Regions from separate parts of the Homo sapiens genome. Here region 2 is linked to region 1. The links are contacts of gene promoters, found by promoter capture Hi-C in human tissues and cell types (Jung and others, 2019). All regions are on one chromosome and are shown on one strand. The core of a region is centred on a gene start or on the middle of the fragment in contact, and the rest is flanking DNA. Distances in the headings are between cores, read along the strand shown. Region 1 holds the start of PAPLN (papilin, proteoglycan like sulfated glycoprotein). Region 2 overlaps DNAL1 (dynein axonemal light chain 1).

Region 1 (6,151 bases), core at 770-3,269:
CAGAGTTCCAGAGGGGAAAAAAAGAGAGAGCAATTAAAAATACTTCTATGTGGTTGAAAAACAAGTTCAGAATCCGAGTAATTAGACTCACTTTTAATTCAGCAAGATTCCTTTTAAAAAAGCTATTACATCAGATGTTTAAAAACTCCTAATATAGGCTTTAAAAAAATCAAGTCTCTGAAGACACTTTGAAAACCCAAATGCTCTAAAAGTGTTAATTGTAGCCCATTTAAAACCCAAGCCAGCATTTCTCTGCACAGGGAAGCTCCATAAGCAGCCTCCATAACCAACGTGTGTATGCAGTGCAGTGTGCGCCGTGCAGTGTGCGTGGTGCAGCGTGTGAGCCCTGAAAGTGCAGTGCAGTGTGCAGTACAGTGTAGTGTGCTCAGGGCAGTGTGCAGTGCAGTGTGTGTGGAGTGTCTGTGGTTTGATGTGTGCATGCATGCAAAGTGCATGTGCAGTGTGCGGGGCGGGTCCATGTGCAGTCTGGTGTGTACTATTTGGTGCAGGTGTCCAGTCGGTATACACGCTGTGCAGTGTGTATGTGTACATACATGTCGCTGTATCGCAGAATGACATAAACAATGTGCGCCCTTCAGTACAAAACATTAAACAAGTACTAGCGTGCAGGTTTGAACTTTAAAATCTGTAATTCTACCAATGTTCTAATTTTTTAAAGATATAAAATGACTTCTGCTTACAAGGATAAAAGACAGCATACAGAAGCCAAGCTCAGCAGAAATGTAACCTGGCATACTGAACAATGTACACACTCGTTAATTTGGCACAGTGAGTCATTGAGTCATTATTTTCGTGGTCAAGTTCGAGATTCCTGGGGTTGGAGGGTGAGGGAAGGGGGTTGCTGCCAGAGCCCTGCCTCTGCTCTGCTGGGGGCAGCTCCCAGAGCAGGAGCCCCCTGCTAGGGCCAGGCTAGGCCTGCTAGGGCGGGCGAGGCTGAGGAAAAGACGGGTGAAAGAAGAATTTTACTTGTAATTACTCAGAACACCACCGCCTCCGCTGCAATTTCACTGAACTCCAAGCCCATATCTGCCATTCCGAAGTCTGAAAAGTTCAGTTTTTTCGGTTCATTTGGTGGCAAACAACCCCTTCAACTCCAAGGCCAGTCCGGGTCTGGTCACGGGGCTACTCCGAGGGCCGTGGAAGCTCGACCTCTCCTGCCGCCCGAGGGCAGGGACCGGGTGGCCCCGGGCACGCAGGGTGGGCGCCCTCAACGTGTTGTTCCCGGGGAACGCGTCTGCCTTGAGCTAGGGCCGAAGGCGGCGACCCTAGGCGCCAGAGGGCGGGAAGGCGGGTGGCCGCCGACCAAGCCTCCCCCTACAGGGTCCCCAGCCGACTCCGGGACCGCCGCAGTCCGCAGACGCCCGTCCCCGTGGCCCCCGCCCACGGCCCCCCTCTGCATCGGTCCAGCCCTGACCAGGCACCCCGCGTCCCCACCCCAGGAACGCGCCGCGCACCCCCGAGGCGGAGAGGCGCGGTTCCCACGGGAGGCCCGGGGTGGCCGCGCAGGTGCCGGCAGCCGCTGGGGCTCCCGGACGCTCCAGGCCCGCGGCCCAGTGGCACCTCCCGGGAGGGGCGCACGGTCTCCAGGGCCTCGCTTGTACCACGCGCCGGGAGCGGCATTCGCCTGAAGGGAAGGTCCGAGCGGGCGGAGGGTGCGCGCCGGGGCCGTCCCGCACCAGCTCCCCGGCTCTCTGCATTTCCTTTCCTCCAGGCCGGGGGGCGCGCGGTGCCGAGCGATGACCCTGCGCCCACCTCCGGAGAGCGAGCCGGGGCGGGGTCTTCTCTGCGGCCCCCACTTTCTCCGACACCCCCGTCGCCGTGAGCCAGGCGAGCAAATTCCTGCAGAAGCCCCGGGGTGCGGGGTCCCCGCCGCTGGGCGCCCGGGGGCTTCCAGTCCCTCCGCCTCCCTACCTGTCTTCGCTGGCGCCGGGAGGCTGCAGCCAGGGCCGCTCCGTCGGTGCCCGCCCAGGCCCAAGCCCGCGAGGTCGGCCGGGCCGCAAGGAACGCCCGCAGGGGTGGGACTTTCTCTCTCCGCCGCTGCCTGGCCTCACCCTCCACCCCGCCCTGTCTCACTTACCCACCTCCAATCCCCGTGGGAGGACAGAGCCCTTCGTAGAGGCCCTCGTGGTGACCGGTGTTGCCCGGGGCCTCCACCCGCTTGGGTCTGTGCCAAGGCTTGGCTCATCCTCCACTCTGGTCACCCCGTCTGTCCTCTCTTGGGTCAGCGCCAGTCACCTCTCCAATCCCATTTCCCCTTGCCCAAGCCTTCTAGCTTTGCCCTATCCGCTCCTCTTCATGCCTATCCTACACACAACACACCTGTGTCCAGCCACCACCTTCTCCACCCCTGGATCCTATTCTTCAGCCGCAACTGAGTTTCTCCGCACACGCTGCTGTTACCCATCTCCCAGCACGTTTTCTCACTCAGAATGCGCTCTCCCAATCCCCTCTACCTCTCAAACCCGTAGTCAGCCCTCAAAACCTTGGTCAAATGTCACTTTCCTTCCTTTCTTCTTTCTTTCCCTCCCTCCCTTCCTCTTTTCTTTCTTTCTACTTTCCTCCCTCACTTTCTTCTTTCTTTCCCTCCCTCCCTTCCTCTTTTCTTTCTTTCTACTTTCCTCCCTCCCTTTCTTCCTCTTTCTTTTCTTTCTTTCTACTTTCCTCCCTCCTTTTCTTTTTTTTTTTTTTAGACGGAGTTTCACTCTTGTTGCCCAGGGTAGAGAGCAATGGCTAGATCTTGGCTCACTGCAACCTCCGCCTCCTGGGTTCAAGCGATTCTCCAGCCTCAGCCTCCCTAGTAGCTGGGATTACAGGCGTCTGTATGATGCCTGGCTAATTTTTGTATTTTTAGTAGAGACAGGTTTTCACCTTGTTGGCCAGACTGGTCTCCAACTCCTGACTTCAGGTGATCCACCCACCTCGGACTCCCAAAGTGCTGGGATTACAGACGTGAGCCACTGCGCCCAGCCTTCTTCTTCTTTTTTTAAATAGAAACAAGGTCTCGCCCAACCTGGTCTCGAACTCCTGAGCTCAAGCAATCTTCCCACCGTGGCCTGCCAAAGTGCCACCGTGCCCAGCATGTCACCTGCTTTTGAAGCCGTCTCCACACCACCCCAGGCCGATGGGGTGCATGTCCTGCTCCCTCGGTTTCTGTCCCTGTTGCTGTGATTTGCTCAGCTGTGAGTCCCGGGGGGCAGGGCCTGCAATGCAGCCCCACCACCTGTGCCAGGGCACTAATTAGCATCAAGGCAGGGGCTCAACGCATGTGATCAACTTCATTTGTTTTCCTGGTTGTCCTTTTTCACAACCAAGACACTCTTTGCCTACCATTCTTTTTTTGAAACTGGAATTCACTCATCTTTAGAAACTGGTCCTGGACACGAGGGAGGTTGGGGGGAAGAAGTTGGGGAGAGGTTGGGGGTGGGGTGGTGGCAAAGGCTGGTCCCCTTCCCCCACGCTGTTCTGCCTTTAGCCCCTTGCTGGCCCTGCCACTTCTCCCTTGGCCTCATTTGGGCAAAGAGAAGTCACCAGCGGGAAGCTCAGCCCCACTTCAGCCCCCTGGCTCCAGCAGCTGCCTGTTTGGACAAAATGCTTATTAGAACATGGCCAGTTTAAATCAGTTTAAATCAGGTGCATTTCTTACCTATCAATGAAGACAGGAGGAGCAGCAGCTGTAGCGGGGCCCCTGGGGAGTTGTGTGAATTCTTAAGCAAAGATAAAGCTTGGCAGAGAAAGGGGAGTGGAATCATGCAGCCTCTCTAAAGAGGAAAAGCGCTTCTTCCATTCAACAAGCCCCACTCCCTGCCCCCACCAGCTGGGACTTTTCTGAGCTTGGTCAAAGGTCCTCTGTTAAGTGGGAGGAAAATGCTTCTCCCGCTGCAGGGTGGGGGAAGCTGAGGCCCAAGGAGCTCACTTTCCTGCTGTGTCCCTGCTTTTCCTATGATCCTTTCTTCTCAGACACCCAGGGCTGTGATTTCTTATGCCTCACGCCAGCTGCAAAGAGGACTCTGAGGTTGGGAGGCAGAACCCACACTCAGTGGTAAGGGACTGTCTTAGACCCACCAGCCAGGCCCTAGCAATTACTGGCTTGGGCAGGAATATTCTCTTTAAGCCTCATTTCTCCTCTGCTTACCTCACAGAGATGTGAACAGAACTGATGCATTAAAATAGGGTGGTTTAGAAAGAAGATTCCAGGAAAAAGTGTAAGACCTTCCTTCCTATTGTCAAGTCCCCTCTGTGCTGGCTCTATGCCACTCAGTGTCTGCACCTGAGACGCCCTCGCATTGGGGGTTTGGGGTAGCCTGGGGCGGAGGCAGACCTGGACTGGAAGGCTGCTCTGCTTCTCACTGTGTGTGTACTTGGGCAGGTCGGGTCACCTCCTTAAGCCACAACTTGCTCACTTGAGACTCATACAGCAGGTGGTAGAGTAGGGAAGTAACTGGTTTCCATAAAATTCCTACTAGATGCAGAATAAAAGTTAGTTCTGATCTGGGCGCAGTGGCTCATGCCTGGAGTCCCAATACTTTGAGAGGCTGAGGAGGGAGGATTGCTTAAGTCTAGGAGTTCAAAACTAGCCAGGGCAACACAGTGAGACCCTCCATCTCTACAATTTTTTTTTTAATTAGCCAGGTATGGTGGCAGTTGCCTGCAGTCCAAGATAGGGGTCCTCAATCCCCAGGCCACGGACCGGTACCTGTCCATGGCCTGTTAGGAACGGGCACACAGCAGGAGGTGAGCAAGCATTACTGCCTGAGCCCCGCCACCTGTCAGGTCAGTGGCAGCATTAGATTCCCACGGGAGCATGAACCCTGTTGTGAACTACTCATGCAAGGGACCTAGGGTGTGCATTCCTTAGGAGACTCTGATGCCTGATGATCTGAACAGGATCAGGCTTTAGACTGGAACAGTTTCTTCCCGAAACCATCCCACCCCGCTCCCAGACCTGAAAAAATTCTCTTCCATAAAACTGGTCCCTGGTGCCAAAAAGGTCGGGTACCACTGGCCAAGCTACTTGGAAGGCTGAGGCAGGAGGATCAATTGAGCCTGGGATGTCGAGGCTGCAGCGAGCTATGATTGCACCACTGCACTCCAGCCCGGGCAGCAGAGCAAGACCCTGTCTCTAAAAAAATTTTTGTTAAATTTCTGTCCTGTGCTCCCGCCATGTGTATCCTCAATTCTCTACATTTTCATATCTCCACAGATTGCAGATCTAAGGATGAGGCTAAGAAAGAAGTGGCCAGATCTCTTTGTGTGGTTGGGTTGGGATGGAAGGCTGGAGAGAAGAGAGAGGGCAAAATGCCAAGAGCCTCGGGGCTCCCAGGATTCACCTCCTCCAGGAAGCCTTCCTGTACATCTGGCTCTGCACTCCCATCGGTGCCGGGCTTTGCCCTAGCACTTTCAAACTACTGCAGTGATGTAGTTGTTTCTCTTTCTCTCTCATAATTGTGAACATTGCAAGGGCAGAGATCCATTTTCATGTTATACCCTGGACCAGAGGTTCATGGTGGCCCTGAAGGTTTGCCTCAAGAGAGGGGCTTTGAGAAGTGTAACTGGTGACCAGCTTCCAGTGGCTGCACTCAGCCCCACACCAGGTTCTGAAGACTCCCCCTGCACCTCCTCCTCCCCGCAATTCATCTTCACAGGCGCTCCCCTGTAGATCTCTCGCACATCTAGTCCCGTCTCAGCCTCTGCTCTCAGAGGGCCTGAACCAACCCTTGCGGTTCTTGGTTGCACATCACAGAAAAGGACTGAGTCAGCTTAAACAGGAGAGTTGCTTAGAAGAGAGGCAATGGGAGATCGCAGATTGACAGGAGGGCTGAAAATCAGGCACATGCTTGGGCTGGACCCCCGACAATGTCCTAGTTGTAGTCCAGGAGCAGTTCCAGTTAGGATCTATGCTGCTCTTCCGCTGGACGCTGAACTCGTGTCACCACCAATTTTAGGCAATGCTGACACATGCCTAGAAAAACCCTGAAGCGTCCTTGTAGACTCACTCCCCACAGGAACATGCCTGTACCCTGATGGCCAGGACCTGAGAAACAAGAATTGGCAGGGTCCCCAGGTGGAAGTTCAGATGGCAGCTGCCCCAGAAAACACATGTCCACCAGGACAGGGTATTTGTTGAACTCCC
Region 2 (5,709 bases), core at 162-2,661, 450 kb before region 1:
TGGCACTATCTTATCTCGTTCATTAATGGTACGGTTTTCAAATTACATTCCTATAGAGTATATTATTTGGTCCTTAGAACATCTGCTTTAAAGCCGATAAGGCAGGTTATTTGATTTCTATTACAGAGGGATTAAGGGCTTTTTCTAAGAACACACTATTAAATAATAGAGCTAGGTCTAAAATTCAGGGTCTTCTCCAACATTTATTATGATGATTTTCAAACATAAAAAAGTTGTTTTTTGTTTTGTTTTGAGACAGGGTCTCACTCTGTCACCCAGACTGGGGTGCAGTGTCACACTCACAGCTAACTGCAGCCTCAACCTCCCCCGGGCTCAAGCAATCCTCTCACCTCAGCCTCCCTAGTAGCTGGGACTACAGGTGCACACTACCACATCTGGCTAATTTTTGTCTTTTTGGTAGAGATGGGTTTTGTAGAGATGTTGTCCAGGCTGGTCTTGAACTCCTGGACTCAAGGGATCTGCCCGCCTCGGCCTCCCAAAGTGCTGGATTAAGGCATGAGCCACTGTGCCCAGCCAATAATACAATTTCCTGTAAGTATTTGTTAAGTAGATAATAAAGACAAGATTTTTGTGAAGCAGTCTAGTGAATATCAATGAGGAAAACCTGGCAAAGTTTGAGTGAATCAATTCAGTGAAATCTGTCATTAAATAAGCTGACTCTTTCGAGAATTGGACAATAACTGAACAGTCATTTAGCAAACTGGTCAGCTTCTGCATGTAAACAAGCCATTTCTCCCCTCAGTTTCTTACTCTGTAAAATGAGGAGACTGGCGCAATGAAATACCATCTCATACCCATTAGGATAGCTACTATCAAAATCACAGAAAATAGTAAGTATTAGTGAGGATGTGGAGAAATTGGAACCTTGTACACGGTTGGCAGGGAGGTAAAATGGTGCAGCTGCTATGGAAAACAATTTGGCCGTTCCTTAAAAAATTAATTATCATATGATAATTGATATCACTTAACAGGGGATCCAGCCATTCCACTTCGGGGCACATATTCAGAAGAAATGAAAGTGGGATCTCGAGATATTGGTACGCCCATGTTCACAGTAGCAAATTCACAATAGCCAAAAGATGGACGTGACCCAAGTGTCCACTGATAGACAAACGGATAAACAAAACATGGTATATACATACCGTAATAGAATATCATTTAACATTAAGCAGGAATGGGCTGGGTGCAGTGGCTCACATCTGTAATCCCAATACTTTGGGAAGCCAAGGCGGGCGGCTCACCTTAGGTCAGGAGTTTGAGACCAGCCTGGCCAACATGGTGAAATCCCATCTCTAATAAAAATATAAAAAAATTAGCCGGGCATGGTGGCACATGCCTGTAGTCCCAGCTACTTTGGCGGCTGAGGCAGAAGAATCACTTGAACCTGGGAGGTAGAGGTTGGAACGAGCCAAAATTGCGCAACTGCACTCCAGCCTCAGCGATACAGTGAGACTCAGTCTCAAAAAAAAAAAAAAAAATTAAGCAGAAAGGAAATTCTGACACACGCTACAACATGGATGAAACTTGAGGATATTACGCTAAGTTAAATAAGCCAGTCACAAAAAGATAAATGCTGTATGATACTACTTATATGAAATACCTAGAGTAGTTAAATTCGTAAAGACGGAAAGTGGAATGGTGGGTGCCAGGGATCAGGGAAGAGGCAGTAGGAAGCTACTGTATGCTTACAGAGGTTCAGACACACAAGATGAAGAGAGTTCTGGAGATGGATGGTGATGGTTGTGCAAGTCTACTTACTACCACTGAACTATACACTTAAAAATGTTTTAGATGGTAAACTTTATGTTATGTATATTTCACCACCATAAAAAACATTGGAAAAAATGAGGAAGTTGGACAAGTTCTTTAAGGTTCCTCTCAGCTATTAAAATTTATGATTTTTTAAGGTCAACAAACCATTGTAAGTATTGAAAACAAAAAAGTAAATGTCTACTCTGTAAATAATATCATGTTGGAGGTTACAGAAGTGGGAGAGCTTTATGAAATGCCATAAAATCTATTTTTTTAGTTTGTTTTTTAGTTTAGAGACAGAGTCTCGATCTGTTACGCAGGCTGCAGTACAGGGCACAATCAGGTCACTGCAGCCTTGAACTCCTGGGCTCAAGTGATCCTCCTGCCTCAGCCCCCTGAGTAGTTAGAACAGGCACGTGCCACCATGCTTGGCTAATTTAAAAAAATTTTTTTTTGTAGAGACAAGAGTCTCACTATGTTGTCTAGGCTGGTCTCAAACTCCTGGCCTCAAGCAATCCTGCCTCGACCTCCCAAAGTGCTAGGACTATAGGCGTGAGCCACCATGCCCAGCTGACCTCTATTTTAGACTATATGTAATGAGGATGATGATGATGATTATTGCTCTGTATAAAGTAATGAATCCAGGTAACACAATGTTGCTTGAAAATTGTTGTGGGGATGTGATTTATAAACAGTTAAGAATTGTTGGTAGGTAGTTGATTACATGTTAAGTATACAAAAATAAATGGCTTTTATATTATTTAATATAAACAGGAAGGGTGTTAAAGAGAAATGCATCATAGCAACAAAAACTATAAATTACCCAGGAAATTAAAAATAGAACTACCATATGATTCAGCAATCTCACTACAGGGTATATAGCCAAAAGAAATGAAAACAGTATGTCGAAGAGATAGCTATCAGCACTCCCATGTTTACTGCAGCACTATTCACAATAGCCAAAATATGGAATCAACCTAAGTGTCCAATAATGAATGAATGTATAAAGAAAATATGGTATATCACACAATGGAATACTATTCAGCCATAAAAAAGCATGAAATCCTGTCATTTGTTACAATGTGAATGAACCTGGAGAACATTATGTTAAGTGACACATCAGACACAGAATGACACTGCATGATCTCACTCATATGTGGAATCTAAAAAAGTTGATCTCGGCCAGGTGCGGTGGCTCACGCCTGTAATCCCAGCACTTTGGGAGGCCGAGGTAGGTGGATCACTTGAGGCCAGGAGTTTGAGACCAGCCTGACCAACATGGTGAAACCCCGTCTCTACTAAACATATAAAATTAGCCAGGTGTGGTGGTGGGCACCTGTAATCCCAGCTACCTGGGAGGAAGAGGCAAGAGAATCGCTTGAACCTGGAAGGTGGAGGTTGCAGTGAGCTGAGATCACACCATGGCACTCCAGCCTGGGTAACAAGAGTGAACTTGTTATTCTCAAAAGAATAATAATAATAATAATAAATAAATAAATAAAAAAAGCTGATCTCATGGAAGTAGAGAGCAGAACAGTAGTTACCAGAGACTGGAGAGGGGGGTGGGGGGCTGAGGGGAGGATGGGAATAAGTTGGTAAATGAGTACCAAGTTACAATTATGTAGGAGAATAAGCTCTGGTGTTCTATTGCACAGCAGGTTAACTATAGTTAACAATAATATATACAGTCATGCAATGCATAACATTTCATCAATGATTGACTCTATATACAATGGTGGTCCCATAAGATTATAATAGGGCTGAAAAATTCCTATTGCCTAGTGATATCCCAGCAGTCATAATGTGGTAGCACAAGGCATTCAAGTTTGTGGTGATACTAGTGTAAACAAACCTACTGAGCCACCAGCCATACACACGCATAACACATACACTTATGTATAGTACATAATAATGATAGTAAATGACAATATTACTGGTTTATGTGTTTACTATACTTTTTATAGTTATTTAAGATATACCCCTTCTACTTATTAAAAAAAAGCTAACTGTAGGCTGGGCGCGGTGGCTCACGCCTGTAATCCCAGCACTTTGGGAGGCCGAGGCAGGCGGATCACCTAAGGTAGGGAGTTCGAGACCAGCCTGACCAACATGGAGAAACCCTGTCTCTACTAAAAATACAACATTAGCTGGGCGTGGTGATGCACGCCTCTAATCCCAGCTACTCGGAAGGCTGAGGCAGAAGAATCGCTTGAACCCAGGAGGTGGAGGTTGCGGTGAGCCGAGATTGTGCCATTGCACTCTGGCCTGGGCAACAAGAGCGAAACTCCAACTAAAAAAAAAAAAAAAAAAAAAAAAATAACTATAAAACAGCCTCAGACAGGTCCTTAAGGAGGTATTCTAGAAAGAAGGCACTGTTGTCATACGAAATGGTGGCTCCATGTGTGTTACTGCCCCTGAAGACTTTCCAGTGGGACAAGATGTGGAGGTGGAAGACAGTGATATTGACTCTGGGTAGGCCTAGGCTAATGTATGTGTTTGTGTCTTCATTTTTAACAAAAATGTGTAAAAAAGATTTAAAAATTTAAAGATAGAAAAAAGCTTATAGAAAGCTTATAGAATAATGAAATAAAGAAAGAAAATATTTTTATACTACTATACAATGTGTGTTTCCAGCTGTTATTACAAAAAAGTCAAAAAGTTAAAAAAATATTGAAAAGTTTTTAACATTAAAAAAGTTGGCCGGGCGCAGTGGCTCATGCCTGTAATCCCAGCACTTTGGGAGGCCAAGGCGGGCAGATCACTTGAGGCCAGGAGTTCGAGACTAGCCTAGCCAACACAGTGAAACCCTATCTGTACTAAAAATACAAAAAAAAAAAAAAAAAAAAAAATTAGCCAGGCATGGTGGTGAGCACCTGTGATCCCAGCTACTCGGGAGGCTGAGGCAGGAGAATCACTTGAACCTGGGAGGCAGAGGTTGCAGTGAACTGAGATTGAGCCACTGCACTCTAGCCTGGGCAACAGAGCGAGACTCCATCTCAAAAAAAAAAAAAAAAAGTTACAGTAAGCTAAGGTTAATTTCTTATTGAAGAAATAAAAACAATATTATTATTTTTGAGACAGAGTTTTGCTCTTGTTGCCCAGGCTGGAGTACAAAGGTGCGATCTCGGCTCACTGCAACCTCTGCCTCCCAGGTTCAAGTGATTCTCCTGCCTCAGCCTTCCAAGTAACTGGAATTATAGGCATGCACCACCACGCCTGGCTAATTTTGTATTTTCAATAGAGATGGGGTTTCTCCATGTTGGTCAGGCTGATCTCGAACTCCCAACCTGAGGTGATCCACCTGCGTCAGTCTCCCAAAGTGCTGGGATTACAGGCGTGAGCCACCATGCCCAGCTAAACATATTATTTTTATTTATTTATTCATTTATTTAGAGGCAGCGTCTTGCTCTGTTGTCCAGGCTGGAGTGCAGTGGTGTGATCAGAGCTCACTGCAAACTCTAACTCCTGGGCTCAAGCAATCCTCAGTTTCCTGATACCTAGGACTACAGTGTGCATCACCACACCCAACTAATATATATATATATATATATATTTTTTTTTTTTTTTTTTTTTTTTTTTTTGGTAGAGATGGGGTCTCGCTATGTTGTCCATGCTTGATTCCAACTACTGGCCTTAAGTGATCCCACCGCCTCAGCCTCCTCAAGTGCTGGCATTACAGATGTGAGCCACTGTGCCCAGCTAAAACATTGTTTATAAATTAAGTGTAGCCTGTGTACAGTGTTTTATAAAATCACCGGGTGCGGTGGCTCATGCCTGTAATCCCAGCACTTTGGGAGGCCGAATCGGGTGGATTACCTGAGGTCAGGAGTTTGAGACCAGCCTGGCCAACATGGTGAAACCCCATCTCTAGTAAAAAATATAAAAACTAGCCGGGCATGGTGGTGGGCTCCTGTAATCCCAGCTATTCAGGAGGCT

Evidence for each region. The method cuts DNA at HindIII sites, captures the fragments that hold promoters and counts their contacts. A contact is called where the count stands out against the background at its distance.
Region 2: a contact is called between a fragment that was not itself captured here and the fragment with the promoter of PAPLN in region 1, in 1 of the 25 tissues and cell types used here (hippocampus).

What each region holds. Positions count from the first base shown.
Region 1 is chr14:73,233,374-73,239,524 of GRCh38, reverse strand. It overlaps PAPLN (papilin, proteoglycan like sulfated glycoprotein), which reads right to left and starts at 2,019. Exons shown (of 27, transcript NM_001365906.3): 1 at 1,933-2,019. RefSeq lists enhancers at 1,458-2,028, 2,602-3,173, 3,174-3,746 and a silencer at 3,090-3,384. The HindIII fragment of the contact is 14,518 bases long and covers 1-5,010 here.
Region 2 is chr14:73,681,251-73,686,959 of GRCh38, reverse strand. The region is part of intron 5 of DNAL1 (dynein axonemal light chain 1); the gene reads right to left. Among named protein-coding and RNA genes, the nearest start is that of PNMA1, 30 kb to the left of the region's middle. RefSeq lists an enhancer at 1,263-1,432. The HindIII fragment of the contact is 5,854 bases long and covers 1-4,338 here.